2 separate regions of the Homo sapiens genome follow, and region 2 is linked to region 1. Evidence: promoter capture Hi-C in 16 types of primary human blood cells and fetal thymus (Javierre and others, 2016). All regions are on one chromosome and are shown on one strand. Each heading gives the region's core, a stretch centred on a gene start or on the middle of the fragment in contact. The rest is flanking DNA. Distances are from core to core; before and after follow the strand shown. Region 1 holds the start of PSMD8 (proteasome 26S subunit, non-ATPase 8). Region 2 holds the start of SIRT2 (sirtuin 2).

Evidence for each region. The method cuts DNA at HindIII sites, captures the fragments that hold promoters and counts their contacts. A CHiCAGO score of 5 or more calls a contact.
Region 2: the fragment with the promoter of SIRT2 here is called in contact with the fragment with the promoter of PSMD8 in region 1 in 1 of 17 cell types (neutrophils); the score reaches 10.1 in neutrophils.

What each region holds. Positions count from the first base shown.
Region 1 is chr19:38,373,200-38,375,899 of GRCh38, forward strand. PSMD8 (proteasome 26S subunit, non-ATPase 8) reads left to right here and starts at 1,372. Exons shown (of 7, transcript NM_002812.5): 1 at 1,372-1,762. The coding sequence starts at 1,403. RefSeq lists enhancers at 1,281-1,911, 1,542-1,681. The HindIII fragment of the contact is 10,393 bases long and covers 1,028-2,700 here.
Region 2 is chr19:38,898,357-38,901,056 of GRCh38, forward strand. It overlaps SIRT2 (sirtuin 2), which reads right to left and starts at 1,262. Exons shown (of 16, transcript NM_012237.4): 1 at 1,150-1,262; 2 at 23-69. The coding sequence starts at 1,165. NFKBIB (NFKB inhibitor beta) reads left to right here and starts at 1,613. Exons shown (of 6, transcript NM_002503.5): 1 at 1,613-1,855. The coding sequence starts at 1,677. The HindIII fragment of the contact is 23,515 bases long and covers 1-2,700 here.

The DNA of each region.
Region 1 (2,700 bases), core at 122-2,621:
CCAGGCTGGAGTGCAGCGGCACAATCTCAGCTCACTACAAGCTGACCTCCTGGGTTTAAGCGATTCTCCTGCCTCGGGCTCCTGAGTATCTGGGATTACAGGTGTGTGCCACCACGCACAGCTGGTTTTTTTGTTTTTTTTTTTTGGTATTTGCAGTACAGATGGGGTTTCGCCATGTTGGCCAGGTTGGTCTCGAACTCCTGACCTCAAGTGATCTATCTGCCTCGGCTTCCCAAAGTGCTGGGATTACAGGCATGAGCCACCATGCCTGGCCAACAAATATTTATTGACTGTCTACTAATATTTGCCAAGCACTGAGATACTGGGAATTCAGTAGTGAAGGAAATCGTCCTGCCTTCATGGAGATGACATTCTAAATGGTGGAGACGGAGAGTGAAAGTCGGGTTTGAGAAAAACGTGCTGCCCAGGCGCAGTGGCTCACACCTCTAATCCCAACACTTTGCGAGGTCAAGGCAGGAATATCGCTTGAGCTCAGGAGTTCGAGACCAGCCTGGGCAGTATAATGAGACTCTGTCTCTATAAAAAATTTAATTTTTTTTAAAAAGAGAGAAAAAGCGATGTTGAATGTGCAGATGTAATATCAATCAGTGGAGGAAGAAGTTGGTATAAGAAGTTGTGAATACTGGCCAGGCAAGGTGGCTCATGCCTGTAATCCCAGCATTTCGGGAGGCCAGGGCCCAGGGAATCGCCTGAGTTCAGGAGTTGGAGACCAGCCTGACCAACATCTACTAAAAATACTAAAATTACGTCTCTACTAAAAATACGAAAATTAGCCAGGCGTGGTGGCACATGCTTGTAATCCCAGCTACTTGGGAAGCTGGGGCAGAAGAATCACTTGTACCCAGGAGGCGGAGGATGCAGTGAGCCAAGATTGCTCCATTGCACTCCAGCCTGGACAACAAGAGCTAAACTCCGTCTCAAAAAAAAAAAATTGTGAATCCTCCACTTACACATGACATTGAAAGCCATAGAGCTGGATGAGTTTTGTAACTAGTTAGTTCATATAAGCTTGGGAAAAAAATGTGGAAGGATGCATTGAAAAAGACTGGAGAGGGAGCCCCAGGTACACATCCTAGCTGTTAGTCCTTTGGAAGGTTACCCAGCCTCTCAGTCTGTCTATAAAATGAGAATAACACAGCTCTCCAAATGGCACGACACCCGCTACCTTTTGGCTTGGAGACGCTGCCCCGAAGGCGGAACCTCCAGGACAGCTACGTAGCGTCCCGAGCACTCAGACTGAAGCCAGGGCAGCCATGTTCATTATTGGAACCGTGAGGTGGGTAGGGGGGGTGGTGTTGAGACAGCTGTCATTTTCAGTTAGGGCAAAAGCCAACTTCCGGTCACCATCTTGAGTGACGACAGAGGCGGAGCTCCAACTGACATGTTCATTAAGGGCAGGGCTCCGAGGGCGCCACCTCGAGAGCGACGGCGGGCTACCCGGGGCGGGCTGAGGCAGGTTGTAGCCCCGCCCCGGGCCTTGGGCTCCACCTCTCGGCCCCACTTCCGCCGGGCAAGCGTTTGTAGGCGGCGCTGCCGTAAATCAGGCGGTCTGCTTGCCGCATCACGCAAGATGGCGGCCGCGGCGGTGAACGGGGCGGCAGGCTTCTCGAGCTCCGGGCCCGCGGCAACCTCGGGCGCTGTTCTGCAGGCCGCGACCGGCATGTACGAGCAACTCAAGGGCGAGTGGAACCGTAAAAGCCCCAATCTTAGCAAGTGCGGGGAAGAGCTGGGTCGACTCAAGGTAAAGTCGGCAGGCCCAGGAAACCGAGTGTTGCGGGCGTGGGAGGCGCTACGAGGTGTCTGGACCCAACCAAGTCCCGGGCCGCGGAAGCCACCTCGGTGCCAGCGAGACTGAGGCGGGCTGGGGGATCCGATGGGGTGAAAGATTTGGAACAGCCAAAGTGGGGGCTCGGAGGGCGTCAAGAAGCGAGAGAGGGACAGGGAGCGTTGATGGTCACGCCTGTAATCGCAGCGCTTTGGGAGGCCGAGGCGGGGGAGCGTCGCTTGAGCCCAGGAGTTCAAGATCAGCCTGAGCAACATAGCGAGACTCTGTCTCTACATTTTTTTTTTAAGTGAGAGATGACTGGAATGGACCCACGCGGGGGTGGTGGGGGAATGATTGGAAGACTTATGGCAGAACTGAGTGAGGGGTTAGATTTTTGGTGCGTGGAGGCTTAACTGGTCGGAGTGGCAGGATTGGGATTCGGGCTTTTCCTGATGGTGGATTCCAGGCAAGACCAAGTGGGAAGTGAGGACTGCCCGGAGTGATAAAAGAATGAGGCTGAAAAGGTGGGCTGTGTAGAGGGTGTGTGGTTAAGACCAGGCTGGGTTAGGATCTGAGAGATCTGGGGCTTAGGCTCGCATCTGTTGGGAGAGGGGGCAGCCTAGTTGTGAAGGCAGGACTGAACCTAGAAGAAATATTCTTACAAGTAGAGAACAAGAATACGGGGCCCAGAGTGCTTCAGACCAAACATCTGTTGGGAGGGAGTGTAAATCCAGTGGCTTGGAACAAGCTGCTGAGCCTGCTAAGGAAAGATGTATGGGCTGAACTGTGGGGGGAGATTTGGACCTCCCCCTCCCAGATATAGATTTTGGGGATAGCCCAGCTACCCCTTCCCCAATAGATTGTGGGGAAGATGGGCCAAGAATGGAATGTACTCCTGTCCCCACCGCCGCGTG
Region 2 (2,700 bases), core at 12-2,511, 530 kb after region 1:
TCCACCCTTTCCCCCATCTCACCTGAGCCTCCTGCACCTTCCCTGCCTGGGTCTCCAGAGGGTGAGAGGCTGGGGGAGGGGAGCAGAGGTGGTTACAGTGGGGAGAACGATTAAGGGGGGAATAAAGGGGTTCAAATGGTCAGTGAGGGGGCAAGAACACCCACCAACCTAGTTACACTGGGATGGGATGGTGGTAAAAATGGAGCAGAGGGAGGGAGGGGACGGAGAAAAGATCTTATCTACATGCAAAGTGATGCCGGGAGAGGTGATTAGTGAGGGGCAGAGAGGCTGGAGAGGAAGATTTAGGGGGACAGGGAGAAAGTAGGGGCTTTTGCCCAGGCTGGTCTTGAACTCCTGGGCTCAAGCGATCCAACCACCTTGGCCTCCCAAAGTACTGGGATTACAAGCATGAGCCATTGTTTCTGGCCCTGACTTACTTTCTTTCTTTTTTACTTTTTAGAGAAAGGGTCTCGCTCATGTCACCCAGGTTGGAGTGCAATAGTGCGATCATAGCTCACTGCAGCCTCAAATTCCTGGGCTCAAGCGATCCTCCTCCTCCTACCTAGGGGATTCAGGGCATGAAGGAACACTCAGGAGGAGTTAGGAAGGACACGACAGTGTGTGAGTGTGTGTGCGGGGAGGGTTAGATTTACAAGGCAGAGGGAAGTTTAGAAAGGAAAAGAGAAGGGAAGAGACGCTTTGGCTGGGAGGCAGGTTTAGGAGGGAGGTGCAGTGGTGCAGTGGAGGCGGTAGGTTTAGGAGAGGCGCGGAACAAGGGGAAGCCATAGGAGGGGTCAGCAGGGGTCCCTCAGCATCCTCTGGTTGCCTCTAACAATCAGGTACCCATAGCAAGCGGGACCGGGGCAACTTATGTTCTTTGCAGCGAGGGACCTTAGCAACCAAGGTGCGAGAAACACGCGATCATTGGCAACTTGGCAAGTGGATGTGGTAAACGAACCCTGAACACACTGCGACCCAGAAACCCACCAGCCTAGCGATACAGATCGCTAAGCAACAGCCCTCAGAATCCCACTCCCCGAAGCGCTCCCTACTTCCCGCCCCACCGCGGCCACCCTTGGGCCCCGGGGCCTGCAGCATTCAGCCAGGCCCCGGCGCGGCCCGACCCTCCTACCCGGATCCCCGACTCACGGTCTGGCTCTGCCATGGGCGCGGTGCTGAAGCCCTTGAGGCTGTCACCGACCGCTCTGTCCCGTCACCAACCACTGTGTCCCGTCACCGACTGCTCTGTCCTGTCACCGACTGCTCTGTCCCGTGACGGCACCAGAAATGGGAGTGGCCGTGATAGGGCACAGAACTACAACTCTCAGCAGACATTGCGGCCGCAGACGCGCTTTCGTACAACACCCAGAGCGCCCCAGTTAGGTAAGAAAGCGCGCGAGGACCGGACTACGAGTCCCAGAAGGCGTGGCGTCAGCAGCCATGTTGGTAAAGGGCGCCCGGAAAATGTGGGAACGGCTAGAGAGTTGTAGTCCTCCCGAATACTCTGATTGGTCAGGATGCAGTACGAGGGCGGGGTGTGAGCGATTCAGCATATTATCATTGGGTGAATCAGGGGGCGTGGTGGGGAATTTCCCGCAGGGCGGAAGCTCCAGAACTCCCGGCAAAGCCCAGCTACAGGCGGGCGACTGCGGGGGGCCCCTGAGGCGGCGGGGGCCATGGCTGGGGTCGCGTGCTTGGGAAAAGCTGCCGACGCAGATGAATGGTGCGACAGCGGCCTGGGCTCCCTGGGTCCGGACGCAGCGGCCCCCGGAGGACCTGGGTTGGGCGCGGAGTTGGGCCCGGGGCTGTCGTGGGCTCCCCTCGTCTTCGGCTACGTCACTGAGGATGGGGACACGTGAGTGAACCTTAGGCTGCCAAACGGAGCCCTAGGACCCGGCGTCACATTCCTCATTAATCTCTGATCCCTGAGGCTTCCTAACCTCATACTCCTAAATCTGACTTCCGATGCTGAACTTCCTGACCTCTAACCCCCGAGTCCTAACTTTTAACAAAACCAATCTTCTATCTAGCTATGATCCTAACCCAATCATTTCTTACCTTCTTTTCTTGAACTATGATTCTCAGCTCCTGGAATCCACATTGTATCCACTGATACCCAAACCTGACTCCAGTCCTGAGACTTCTGTTAGAACTGTGGCTTCTCCTGACTTCTAACCTCCAAATATGATCTTTGATTCTTAGTTCCCGATTTGAGCCCTAGAGTTTGATTTCCGAAATTAATACTTGGTCCCTGACTCTAAGATCCTGTCTTCTGAGCAGTGTTCTTCAAATCTTAAATTCAAAGAGAGAGAATGTAAGCTCTTCTATGTTGAATTCCTAATTAAAGTAAAAAAATAGGAAAATTAAAAAAAAGAATGTTAGCTCCATGAGACCAAGGATTCATCTGTTAAACAAATATTCTTTACACATTACCACGTTCCAGGCTCCGTTTAGGTGCTAGTGATAAAGGCAGTGAAGAAAACAAACAAAAACTTAAGCCCTTGTGGAGCATACATTTTAGTGGAGCTAAATAAACAGATTGATAAGACCACAAGGAAGGAAAGAAATGGAAAGACAGGAAGAAACAAAGAAAGACACGCAGAAAGAAAGAAACATAGAAAGTAAGAAAAGGAAATAAAGTCAGAGGTAGTTAAGTACTTTGGAGAAAAATAAAGCAGGAAAATGAGGCAATAGATAAAC